Linked DNA regions of Homo sapiens: region 2 is linked to region 1. Evidence: promoter capture Hi-C in 16 types of primary human blood cells and fetal thymus (Javierre and others, 2016). All regions are on one chromosome and are shown on one strand. Each heading gives the region's core, a stretch centred on a gene start or on the middle of the fragment in contact. The rest is flanking DNA. Distances are from core to core; before and after follow the strand shown.

The links. The method cuts DNA at HindIII sites, captures the fragments that hold promoters and counts their contacts. A CHiCAGO score of 5 or more calls a contact.
Region 2: a contact is called between the fragment with the promoter of LDHC here and the fragment with the promoter of LDHAL6A in region 1, in 8 of 17 cell types (total CD4 T cells, erythroblasts, naive CD8 T cells and 5 more). The highest score is 7.0, in total CD4 T cells.

Annotation. Positions count from the first base shown.
Region 1 is chr11:18,452,600-18,459,231 of GRCh38, reverse strand. It overlaps LDHAL6A (lactate dehydrogenase A like 6A), which reads right to left and starts at 3,376. Exons shown (of 7, transcript NM_144972.5): 1 at 2,426-3,376. The coding sequence starts at 2,551. The HindIII fragment of the contact is 8,824 bases long and covers 1,230-6,632 here.
Region 2 is chr11:18,408,511-18,415,142 of GRCh38, reverse strand. It overlaps LDHC (lactate dehydrogenase C), which reads right to left and starts at 2,825. Exons shown (of 8, transcript NM_017448.5): 1 at 2,735-2,825; 2 at 2,300-2,434. The coding sequence starts at 2,425. The HindIII fragment of the contact is 7,298 bases long and covers 819-6,632 here.

The DNA of each region.
Region 1 (6,632 bases), core at 2,127-4,626:
CTGGCAGCTGATTAGATGGTGCTCACCCAGATTGAGGGTGGGTTTGCCTCTCAGTCCTCGGACTCAAATGTTAATCTCCTTTGGCAACACCCTCACAGACACACCCAGGAACAATACCCTGCATCCTTCAATCCAATCAAGTTGACAATATTAACCACCACACCATACTAAGGTGTAATGTGGGGTATAAACTGTTATCCTTTCAATTTTTCTGTAAATCTAAAACTATTCTAAAAAATAAAGTCTATAAAAATATATCCTAACAATCTCTCTGGACTCCCTTTCCTTATTTATAAAAATGAAAGTAAACAGAATATCCCATCTTTATATTCACAATCCAGTGCATTCCATTTTAATGGGCATCTTTTAGCAATTCTTTCATCCAACTACTAAATATCAATTACAGGAGGCACTCTTCTAGATTCCAGATACAACACTAAAAGAAAAAGTGGATCTCGCATTATACTAATTAAAGTTTATGTATTATGGTAAAACTCAGTAATTTTTAAAGACATTACTGTTTCTCTACAAGGTTCATACCACAAATTCCTGACAATAAATTCCTGAACAATTCATATTGAGAATTCCTTATCAGCAAGGAGTTTTTAGGCTATCACCACCTCCTTGAATGACAGAAGTTGCAGTGTCTAGGGCCAGGACAGGGAAAGATTAAAGTGAGCCTTAACCTGAGGCTTTATAGGGGGATTGTGTACCCTATTTCCTAAGATATACAAATGCCATAGTTAGCAACATACTAGAATTCAAGTTCTAGAAGCAGGAGGTGACTGGGAAGGCTCTGCTTCATACCTTTACAGCAGGGAGCACCACTGAGTTTGAACAATGGGTGCTACAGGTGGCATTTTAAGCCTCCAGAGGTAAGCCACCAGTGGAGCCTACAGATGCTCTTACATGCCCGGTGGGGCCTGTGCCTCCCATCACCAGTTGCAATGGAATGCACTCCTGCCCTTCTGTACTCCTATCCACCACCTCCACCTGAGATCTATCTAGGACCTCCCATCATGGATAGGGCCATGAAACAAGTGCAGCCCCATGGCACTGCCCTATCCTGGGCCCTGGAACCTCCCATCAGAAGCCCCAAAATTCCCTCCACTCCTGCAACCAAAGCCAAGCAGCAGCTGGCAGAGGTAGGAGTTCCAGGGATATGGCTCAGTCCCTCCCTGAATGGCCCTTCAAAGCAGAGGTGATAAATAAATCTTTTATTTCAAGCTTTTCTATATATATTACCTGTATACTTATCTATTCATGCAATTAGAGATAGTCTATTCCTTTTTTCTCCTCTAAAAAGTAGGTCTAATATTTACTTTCCAGGGTTGTAATATTGGATAATGCATACAAACATACTGTTATCATTATTACTGATGTTAAAAAAAATGTGTTGGGCAAAGCAAGGTGGCTCACATCTGTTATCTCAGCACTTTAGGAAGCCGAGACCTCCTGCTTGAGGCCAGGAGTTTGAGAGCAGCCTGGGCAATACGTGGAGGCCCCATCAAACAATCAATGAGTCACAGATGTGTTGGTTTTCACGTGTGTGTATTCTTCATTAGCAGTGAGGACACTGCTGATAAAGGCATTACAATAGGTAGGACAAAATGAATCATGGGGAATTTGTATGGCTGGCAGGAGCAGCAGTTGGCTGTGGCTGCTGTCCTTAGTGCCATAAGGTCACTATGTCATCTAGATATGAAACCCAGAGGCAATCCTTTAAATCCAATGACTCATGCCAGGATTAAAGGTTATATAAAAGATGGCTAAAACATTTTACAGATATTTCATTAATAAAAGTATAGCTCAGAGTGTCTTATGATTTATTAAAACTTTATGGTAATAAAGTTCATATCAGGGTAATATTCTTAGAAAGGGGTCAGAATCTTTTTTTGGCCTCTGTCTATAGCCATAAAACTTTATCAGCTGTATCAATACTAAGAACAGCTAAACACTAAAACTAACCTAACATGAATAAGGAACGAAGGGAAATAAAGATATACAGACTAGGAAATGGGAGAGAGATATTTAAATGAAAAAAGATTATTGTATTTGGTACTCGTAGGCTGCCTACCATCACTGACACGCTTGTATACTCTTTTCTGCCACCTATTTCTCTCCAGTTTGTTTTGTGAGCTGAGTTTCCAAATCAAGCAAAGGGGTACCTCATATTGTCATTACGTGAAAGTGAAATGTCAACATACTTTCACAGAGATGCTTCTAACCCACATGATATCATCATACAATTTTTAAAAAGGAGCGCCCTCTGGGTGAACAACTAAAAAAAGGGCACCTTTTCCTCTGATGCCCCTCACACTGGCTCCCCACTCACCACCTTGAACTGGACACAACCTCCACAACCATACGCTGTGGCCTCGCCTCCAACTGAGGTGAACCCTGTGGTGCAGAGCACACAACTTACTTTTAATAAGATGCTGATAGCACAAGCCACACCAACCGATCCAGTTCCTACAATGGAGATCTTATTGTGATGAATGGCCTCCTCTTCCGCGAAATTCTTAATAAGTTCACTCTTGATAGTTGCCATCTTGGAAACCTAACAGTGAAGACAAATTGCACAGCCATTTCCAAGACCTGGAATTGGAAATGGCTTGGAATTCCAAGACCTGCGGTGAGAGCGCGTATAGAGAACTCCTGGGCCCGTGTGGAAGGAGGTGCTGCAGACACACAAAAGACCGACAAATCTGACCAGCAAAGAAGCTGGGTAGGTTCTGGCCAGGCAGCTCAGCATCCATGAAGCGGACCAGGGGAAGGAGAAGGAAGCGTGAGTACAGTTAAGAGGAATTAAGAGAGAGAGAGAGGAAAGGAACAGGGGTTGCTCCACCAAACATGAAACTACAGCTGGGACGGCACTCCGTCCCGCAGCTGACCCCCTTTTCTCTCCCCTTTACCCTGCTGTTCCCCCAACCTCCAGTTCTCAGCTCCAGGACTGCGCCCGGGGTCCGCAGGTCCAGGTGAGAGGTACTTCTGGCCACACTCACAGGGGTGAAGGGCCACCCGCGCCCGAGCAGGTCACATGCCGCCTGGCGGAGACACAGAACCATCCTTGGGCAAAAACAATTCGCTCCCGCGGCGCCCGCTCTCTGGCTGCTCCCCAGGACTCTTGCAGCCCAGCTCATGGCCACTCACTCAAGAGGTGAAGAAAGAGAATGGAGGAAAATGGCGTTAAAGCTCATCGAGGCACGAAGGAGATGAACCGCCGACTAACAGACGCCGGGTCGCCCCCTTACTGCAGCTGCGCGGACCGCACCCAGCTCGTGCAGGCATCGCAGGTGTGATGCTTGGCAGGTGTGATGCTTGGCAGGTGTGATGCTTGGCAGGTGTGATGCTTGGCAGGTGTGAGGCCGGAAGCGGGCTGCGAAGCACCGCGCCTGCGCCTCTGCCTGCCCGCCCCGCCCCCGCGTGCGGGTGGGCGGGCTGCGGTGTAGGTGGTTGGCCGGCTGCAGAAGGCGCACGAGGTGCTGCAGGCACAACGCAGTGCAGGGCCTCTGCTGTTGGGCGGAGTTGTTTGCCTAGAACCCATCCACCAGAGAGCCCAAGTAATTTTATTTCTAACCAAACCTTGTCTGGATGTATCTGAAAAGGACTGTTTGACTCTCACGTGAAAATTTTCCCCCAGCCCTGTAGGAGAAAGGGACCTCAAGATTAACTTTTACCACCTCAAATGTGAGCTAAAGTAGAAAAAGTAAAATTTTAAAACTCTGGGCCGAGCGTGGTGGCTCACGCCTGTAATCCCAGCACTCTGGAAGGCCAAGGCGGGCGGATCACCTGAGGTCAGGGGTTCGAAATCAGCCTGGCCAACATCGTGAAACCACGTTTCTACTAAAAATACAAAAATTAGCTGGACGTGGTGGTGCACCCCTGTAATCCCAGCTACCTGGGAGGCTGAAGCACAAGAATTGTTTGTGAACCTGGGAGGCGGAGGTTGCAGTAAGCCGAAATTGTGCCACTGCACTCCAGCCTGGGTGACGGAGTGAGACCCTGTCTCAAAACAACAACAAAACTCTGTATGCAAAAGGAATTTGGAAATAAGATATGAAACCTGAAGAATTTGATGAATGCAGTGCCAATTGATAACCATTTTTACAAGATGAAGGGAAAGCTCAATTCATTATTAAGTGGTTAAATGTAGAATCCACACTTTGGGAGGCCGAGGCGGGTGGATTAGCTGAGGTCAGGAGTTCGAGACCAGCCTGGCCAACATGGCGAAACCCCGTCTCTACTAAAAATACAAAAATTAGCCGGGTGTGGTGGCACGCACCTGTAATCCCAGCTACTCAGGAGGCTGGGGCAGGAGAATCGTTTGAACCCGGGAGGCGGAGGTTTTGGTGAGCCGAGATCATGCCACTGCCCTCCAGCCTGGGTGACAGAGTGAGACTCCGTCTCAAAAATAAAAAACAAAAATGTAGAATTGAAAATCAGTCTGGAATAAACCAAGGTTTCTACTTCTCCCACCACATTTTACCTAATTGTTTTCTCATTTGTGAATCATAATACGTAATTTTGATGGTTAATACTGAGTGTCAACTTGATTGGATTGAAGGATGCAAAGTGTTGAACCTGGGTGTGTCTGTGAGGGTGTTGCCACAGGAAATTAACATTTGAGTCAGTAGGCTAGAAGACGCAAACCCACCCTCTATCCGGGTGAGCACCATCTAGTCAGCTGCCAGCACGTCTAGGATAAAAGCAGGCAGAGGAACGTGGAGGGACTAGACTGGCTAAGTCTTCCAGCCTTCATCTTTCTCCTGTGCTGGATGCTTCCTGCCCTCAAACATTGGACTCCTAGTTCTTCAGCTTTGGAACTCCGACTGACTTTCTTGCTTCTCAGCTTGCAGACGGCCTATTGTTGTGGGACCTCACCTTGTGATTGTGTGAGTCAATACTCCTCAATAAACTCCCCTTTATATATATAGCTATCCTATTCGTTCTGTCCCTCTAGAGAACCCTAATACAGTAATACATATTGACAAATTTTTATAAAATGTAGAGCAGTGTTTCTCAATCTTTTTTCATTATCACTCCCTCAAGAGTCTTTGTAGATATGTTCCCCCTAATTGTTTTGCACCCCCATCATGAAATTAAATATTAAGGAGTTGGCCGGGCGCGGTGGCTCACGGCTGTAACCCTAGCACTTTGGGAGGCCGAGGCGGGCGGATTGCCTGATCTTAGGAGTTCGAGACCAGCCTGGGCAAAACGGTGAAAGCCCGTCTCTACTAATATAAAAGAAATTAGCCAGGCGTCAGCTACTCGGGAGGCTGAGGCAGGAGAATGGCGCGAACCGGGGAGGCGGAGCTTGCAGTGAGCCGAGATCGTGCCACTGCACTCCAGCCTGGGCCACAGAGCGAGACTCCGTCTCAAAAAAAAAAAAAAAAAAAGGAAAGGAATTAGCCGGGCGTGGTAGCAGGCACCTGTAGTCCCAGCTACTCAGGAGGCTGAGGCAGGAGAATTGCTTGAACCTGGGAGGTGGAGGTTGCAGTGAGTGGAGCTTGCGCCACCGCACTGCAGCCTGGGTGACAGAGCAAGACTCCATCTCTTAAAAAAAAAAAAAAAAAAAAAAAACCTATATATATATATATATATATATATATATATATATATATATACACACACATACACATATACATATACGTTTATTTGTCAGGCAAGGTTGAGCTCTGGAGAGCCAAACTCTTGTAATATCTAAGTTTTTTTTTACCTTTTCCTCCCTCCCCCATACCCAGAACCAATTTTCAGCCACTTGGGGACATGTAGAGCAGTTTTACTTACTAGAATGTTCCCTGTAGAAACTGTATCAATTTTTCAGCCTTTTAATCTCTGCAAGAATTTCCTAAAATGAAGTTTTGATGTACAAACGAGCTTTTAAAAAAGCCAAAACCCACAGAAGACTCCCCTTGCCCTCATCCTAACTCAACTGATAATAATTGTATATATTCAAGGGAAGATGCTGAAGAAAAAGGGGAAATAATAAAATAATGGGACACTAATCATGATCAGGAGTAGATGACCAGAATGAAAGCTATCAAGAGAGCAAGAATAACAGACTCAGAGGGTAAGCCATGACTCTCTGACCAAATGAGTCAGCCTTCACTAGTCATGCGAGTCCTCAGGGGCTGCATATCTACCTTCTGATCTTTCCCATTGGTCCAGTTCTAGTCTTAATTTGTAAATTGACCAGGAGTGGTGGCTCATGCCTATAATCCCAGCACTTTGGGGGGCCGAGGCAGGAGGACTGCTTGAGCCCAGGAGTTGAGGACCAGCCTGGGCAACATGGTGAAACCCTGTCTCCAAAAAATACGAAAATCTGCAGGGCGTGGTGGCATGTGCCTGTAGTCTCAGCTACTCAGGAGGCTGAGGTGGGAGGATCTGATGAGCCCTGGAGTTCGAGGCTGCAGCGAGCCACAATTACCCGCTGCACTCCAGCTCCAGCCTGGGTGACAGAACAAGACCTTGTCTAAAAAAAGAAAAAAAATTGTAAATTACCTTGATACTGATTTCTTAGTTTTTGTTTTATTGTATAGTTCCTATAGCTGCCTTAAATTTCTTGTGGAATCAAGGAAATACTTCATATGTATCTATATACTATATAAATCAGTAGAAGCATTTTCACC
Region 2 (6,632 bases), core at 1,576-4,075, 44 kb after region 1:
GTTTTAGGAGAATAAGAAGAATTTTCATGTGGCTACTTGATAATTAAAGGAATCTCATATTTTAATAGGGAAAAATGATATAAAAATAGTTTTTCAATGAGCCTGGGTGACCGAAAGTCAAGGTAAGTAAATATTAAGATGTAGCAAAAATTGTTTGACTTCATATAATTGTTAGAACTTTTTAGAGCTGGGTGTTTTTTGTTTTTGTTTTTTTTTGCCATTCAGATAACAGTTTGAAACCAAGGAAAATAAAATGATTTCAAAGGCTTTTATTATATTTAGCCTTTATTTTTGTGTTTTTTGTTTTGTTTTGTTTGAGATGAAGTCTCACTCTGTCGCCCAGGCTGGAGTGCAGTGGCACAATCTCGGGCACTGCAACCTCCGTCTCCCAGGTTCAAGCAATTTTCGTGCTTCAGCCTCCCGAGTAGCTGGGATTACAGGCGCCCGCCACCATGTCCGGCTAATTTTTGTATTTTTAGTACAGACGGGGTTTCACCATATTGGTCAGGCTGGTCTCAAACTCCTAACCTCAAGTGATCTACCCACCTCAGCCTCGCAAAGTCCTGGGATTACAGGCCTGAGCCACTGCGCCCGGCCAGGATTTTATTATATTTAACCTTAACCCTAATTTCTGAGTTGGCTAAAGCTGCTTTTAGTATGCGTCGTTATGGCCCAAACAGGAAGGTAACCACCTCTGATGAACACTTATTGTTTTCATCTGTCTAGTGTCCCTTTTTCTGGTAATAGAATTTCTCTTTTCCATGGGAACCCATTCCATATGTTTCAGTGCAGTACAATTAACATTGGTTTTCCAAGCTTAGGGTAGATGGGCATAAAACCAGACCTAGCCAATTGTTCCATCCTTTCCTTCTGGTCACAGAAATCAGTTCATAAGTGGACATATGGCCCAGGTATAAGAAACAAGCATGTCTATGAAGTTTGAAAATGGAAGACGGAAGATTACATCTCACTTTTCTTTGGAATCATAAGCTCTAAGAATAACATGCAAATCTAAGAACATTAGTAAGGACTGTAGAGTTGGAGAAAAAACAAGAATCTAAGAACAAACTGTACAGCCATCTTTACCACCACATAGAAAGGCTCTACGAATTAAGCCAACAGAGAAAATCTAAACCAAGATATACAAAGACTATGTCTTGATATGTGTGAACTTCAGAATCCGGTAGTACCTGAAGCAGTTTTGCCCTATTTCCAGTTACATGAACAATATTTCGTCTTTTTCTGCTTACCCTAATTTAAACTGGGTTTTTGTCACATGTGACAGAGTACGGAACTATATACAAGGAGTGTATTCATTCAGATTTCAATAGCCAGATTCCAAAAGCGAACAGTAAGGGAAAGAAGTAAAAGTCCCTACTTAAGGCCAGGCGTGGTGGCTCATGCCTGTAATCCCAGCACTTTGGGAGGCTGAGGCAGGCGGATCACGAGGTCAAGAAATCAAGGCCATCCTGGCCAACATGATGAAACCCCGTCTCTACTAAAAATATAAAAATTAGCTGGGCGTGGTGGCACATGCCTGTAGTCCCAGCTACTCAGGAGGCTGAGGCAGGAGAACTGCTTGAACCCGGGAGGCAAAGGTTGCCGGGAGCCGAGATCCTGCCGCTGCACTCCAGCCTGGCAACAGAGCGAGACTCCGTCTCAAAAAAAAAAAAAAAAAAAAAAGAGAGAACAATAAACACTGGGGACTCCAAAAGCAGAGAGGGAGGAGGGCACAAGGGTTAAAAACAATACCTATTGGCAGCCAGGTGTGGTGGCTCATGCCTGTAATCCCAGTACTCTGGGAGGCCGAGGCAGGCGGATCACTTGAGGTCAGGAGTTCGAAACCAGCCTGGCCAACATGGAGAAACCCCATCTCTACTAAAAATATAAAAAATTAGCCAGGCCTGGTGGTGCATGCCTGTGGCCCCAGTTATTCAAGAGGCTGAGGCAGGAGAATCGCTTGATCCCGGGAGGTGGAGGTTGCAGTGGGCCAAGATCGCGCCACTGCACTCCAACCTGGGTAACAGACAAATCCTGTCTCAAAAAAAGAAAAAGAAAAGGAAAGTCAGAAAAAAAAAGAAAGGAAAAGAAAGAAGAAGTTTAAAAAAAAAGGAAAAGAAAGAGAGAAAGAAAAAGGAAGGAAGGAAGGAAGGAAGGGAGGGAGGGAGGGAGGGAGGAAAGGTCAAAGGATACATAATTGCTTTCAAGGGATTAACCTTGCAACCCTGAATACATCGACATATACAACACTCTGAAGTGCTCACTTGATTTTCAGCCACAGGATGGGCTTCTCACTCACCTTCAGTAAGATACTAATAGCACAAGCCATGCCTACGGCACCAGTTCCAACAATAGTAATTTTACACTGGGAGTTTTCATCATCCTCAATTAGCTTCTCAATTAGCTGCTCCTTGACAGTTGACATTTGGAGAACCTGATAGGGATAATGCAATTTCATTGGATTAACCACACTGAACATCTAAGAAACTACCTCTTCAGTTTGCAGAATGTTGGAGCCGGGGATGGGGGGAAGCCAAAGAAAGAATTTCCTGGTCAAAGGATGCGGGGAGGGTAAAGCAAGGCCCAGTCTACCAGGCAATGGGAGGGCTGGGGCACCAGCGGGCTTTTGGATTTCTCCCTGCCCCCAGCCACCACTTTCACCCCAGCACCACACGCTCACAAATGCTTTGCTTGGCGCAATCAGTACAGATGACCCACAGGGACAAAGCACCACCTTTGAAGGAAGGCACAGAAGTGACACCAGAAAAATACACCAACGACAGTTGAGGCGCTAAGCCCGTCGACGGTTGCCCTCCGTGCGACTCGAGACACGCACGTTCCCCCGCTCGGCTCTTATGCGTCAGCACGCAAGCTCCGCCCCCCGCCGGCCCAGGCGCGGGCATGGGGCGTCTTTTCTGCCCTGGAGCGCAGTGTGGGTGGCGGCGGTCCAGATCACCGAAATGCTGATGGGAAGAATTCTAGACTGGCCCAAAGAGTGTGCAAGACGGGGATATCCATGCATTGTTTGCAGGATTTTAAAAAATTATTAACTTCTGTAACTTCAGGACTGAGTGCTGAAATAAAGTTAGAATTTCTCTTGAGAGAACAGAGGGTGGTAATGAAACGCAAAGACGCGAAGGATGCTTTCAATTTACAGCAAGAAATTGTTAATATTTATAACTCATGGCCGGACGCGGTGGCTCACACCTGTAATCCCAGCACTTTGGGAGTCCGAGGCAGGTGGATCACCTGAGGTCAGGAGTTTGAGAACAGCCTGGCCAACATGGCGAAACCCCGTCTCTACTAAAAATATAAAATTAGTCGGGCATGGTGGTGCATGCCTGTAGTCCCAGCTACTTGGGAGGCTGAGGCAGGAGAATCGCTTGAACCCAGGAGGCGGAGGTTGCAGTGAGCCAAGATCGCGCCACTGCACTCCAGACTGGGCAACAAGAGAGAAACTCCATCTCAAAAAAAATTTACATATATATTTTTTTTTTTGTGAGAGAGATATATATCTCACAGAAGGGGACACAACCTACTCCATCTTTTGTAGAGTATTTGCATTTGAACCTTTTTCAAAATCCAAAATATAATTTATTTTTCTTATAATAGCCTGTAGTGTTGTTATTGTTGTTGTTTTTGAGACAGAGTCTCACTCTGTCGCCCAGGCTGGAGTGCAGTGGCACAATCTCAGTTCACTGCAACCTCCGCCGCCTGGGTTCAAGCAATTCTCCTGCCTCAGCCTCCCAAGTAACTGGGACTACAGGCGTGCGCCACCACGCCCGGCTAATTTTTGTATTTTTAGTAGAGATGGGGTTTCACCATGTTGGTCAGAATGGTCTCCAACTCCTGACCTAGTGATCCGCCCTCCCAAAGTGTTGGGATTACAGGCGTGAGCCACCGTGCTGAGCCACCGTGCCCAGCCGCCGGGCAAATTTTTTTGTATTTTTTTGTATTTCACCTTGCTGGCCAGGCTGGTCTCGAACTCTTGACCTCAAGTGATCCACCCACCTCGGCCTCCCAAAGTGCTGGGATTACAGGCGTGAACCACCGCACCCAGTCAGTATTTGTTTTCAATATGGTTCAGATTATGCAATAACCCTGCTTTAAACTCTTCCGTGGCTTTCCATTACAGGTAGAGTAACCCACTTTTACCACAACCTAGATCTTCAAGATTTGGCCTCCTACCCCCACTTCCCATATCATCTCAGGACACTCAATACACTTCCTTCCAACTAGGCTTTGGACAGCTTTTTTGGATCAGGACTTTTTGCTGTTCTTTAAACCAAGAAAGCTCTTTCCCCAGCCCTTCTCAAGGTTAATTCCTCATTTTCAGCTTTGCACATACATACTCTGGCTTTCCTTGACAAATGTCAACTACCATCATTTCCTGTATATCTCTCTCTTATGGCACTTTTCTCAACCAGCAACTAGCCTGAAGCTAGAGGCCTCCTATAGCAGACAGGAGCAGCAACCACTTGGTCCTATACCTCCACAGCAACCTCATTTATCCCCGGGCTGAGAGGGAGATTGCTGGCCTGGATGGACTGGAAATTTAAGCTCTACACCTGCCTCAGGCCCCTGGCGGCCAAGGAAGGTATCAGCTTGGTAGTGGCCAAACTGATGCTAGATGACTAGAACTGGCTCTTCATCCATGCCTGCCCAAATACTCCAAACTTACTTAACATTTTGCTTACTTGATTGCAGTAACTTTAGAACCAAAATTTGTCTTTATTTATTCTTGTACATTGCAACATTTACCAAAGCATAGTAGGTACTCACTAAAGAATTTTTGGGCCAGACATGGTGGCTCACTCCTGCAATCCCAGCACTTTGGGAGGCCGAGGCTTCAGCCCAGGAGTTCAAGACCAGTCTGGCAACATAGGGAGACCCCCATCTCTACCCCCAAAAATAAAAACAAAATAAAATAAAATAATTTTTTTTGAGACAGAGTCTCGCAGTCTCGCCCAGGCTGTAGTACAGTGGTCCGATCTCGGCTCACTGCAAGCTCCGCCTCCCGGGTTCACGCCATTCTCCTGCCTCAGCCTCCCGAGTAGCTGGGACTACAGGCGCCCGCCACCATGCCCAGCTAATTTTTTGTATTTTTAGTAGAGATGGAGTTTCACTATGTTAGCCAGGATGTTTTCAATCTCCTGACCTTGTGATCCACCCGCCTCAGCCTCCCAAAGTGCTGGGATTACAGGCGTGAGCCACCGCACCTGGCCAAAATAAAAAAAAAATTTAAAGAATTTTTAAAGAACATGGCTTTGAAGTACTGAGTTTTATTTTGGCAACATGGGCTTTAGTGGGGGAAAAAAAGGAAGTAGAACCATGTTCTGAGCATCACATTTGCTTCTACACTAACTGGCAACTTCTGTGAGATGGGGATAAGGCCTGCTTAATTTAGTTCCCAAGGTTACTATGGAAAAAAAAAATCAAGTTTCTTTGCAGAGTTGGCCTATTCCTTGCCTGGGGCAGGAAGGTACAAACTGAACCTGGAACATTTATTTTGCCCATAAGTAAGGAAACTTTACAAGATTGCATTTGAAAATTCATGAAAGATTAATAGAATCAGTCTATTTCACTTAAATATTATTTTTCAGTCATGTTGGTATTGACTAATTTATTGTATCAAATAATATAAAATTAATGTAAATTTAAAAATTTTAAAGACTGAAGGTGACTCAAAGTTTACAAAAGGCTACAGGATTAAGTACAGGCCTCTTTTTGTGCTAATTAAAATATTCTTTTTTTTTTTTTTGAAACAGGGTCTCACTCTGTCACCCAGGCTGGAGTACAGTGGTGGGATCTTGGCTCACTGCAACCTTTATCTCCCGGGTTCAAGGGATCCTCCCACCTGAGCCTCCTGTGCAGCTAGGACTACAGGCACCTGCCACCACGCCTAGCTAATTTCTTTTTTGTAGAGACAGGCTTTTGCCATGTTGCCCAGACTGGTCTGGAACTCCTGGGCTCAAGCAATCTACCCACCTTGGCCTCCTAAAGTGCTGGGAATTTGAAGCCACTGCACCCAGCCTATATTCTAAGATTAGATACTGGTGATGGTTGCCAACTATGTGAATACACTAAAAATCCACAGAACGATACGCTTTATAGCTGTGTCCAACCCTTTGAATGTGAGGACTCTTTAGGTGGCAGCAGGTATCCAGATCATGAACTTTTTTGTAGCTCATCAGCTATCATTAGTGTTAATTTCTTTAATTTTTATTGAGACAGTCTCGCTGTGTTGCCCAGGCTCGAGTGCAGTGGTGCCATCTTGGCTCACTTCAATCTCTGCCTCCCCGGTTCAAGCGATCCTCTCACCTCAGCCTCTTGTGCCTCAGCTTCCCAAGTAGCTGGGATTACAAGCATAGGCCACCATACCTGGCAAATCTTTCGATTTTTAGTACAGATGGGGTTTCACCATGTTGGCCATGCTAGTCTTGAACTCCTGATCCACCCGCCTCAGCCTCCCCAAGTGCTGGGATTATAGGTGTCAGCCACCACAGCTGGCACATGTTAGTGTATTTAATGTGTGGCCCAAGACAATTCTTCTTCCAATGTGGCTCAGGGAAAGCAAAAGATTGGACAACCAGGCTTTAAGATAATTCCTTCCCTTAACTAGCTCTCAGGAA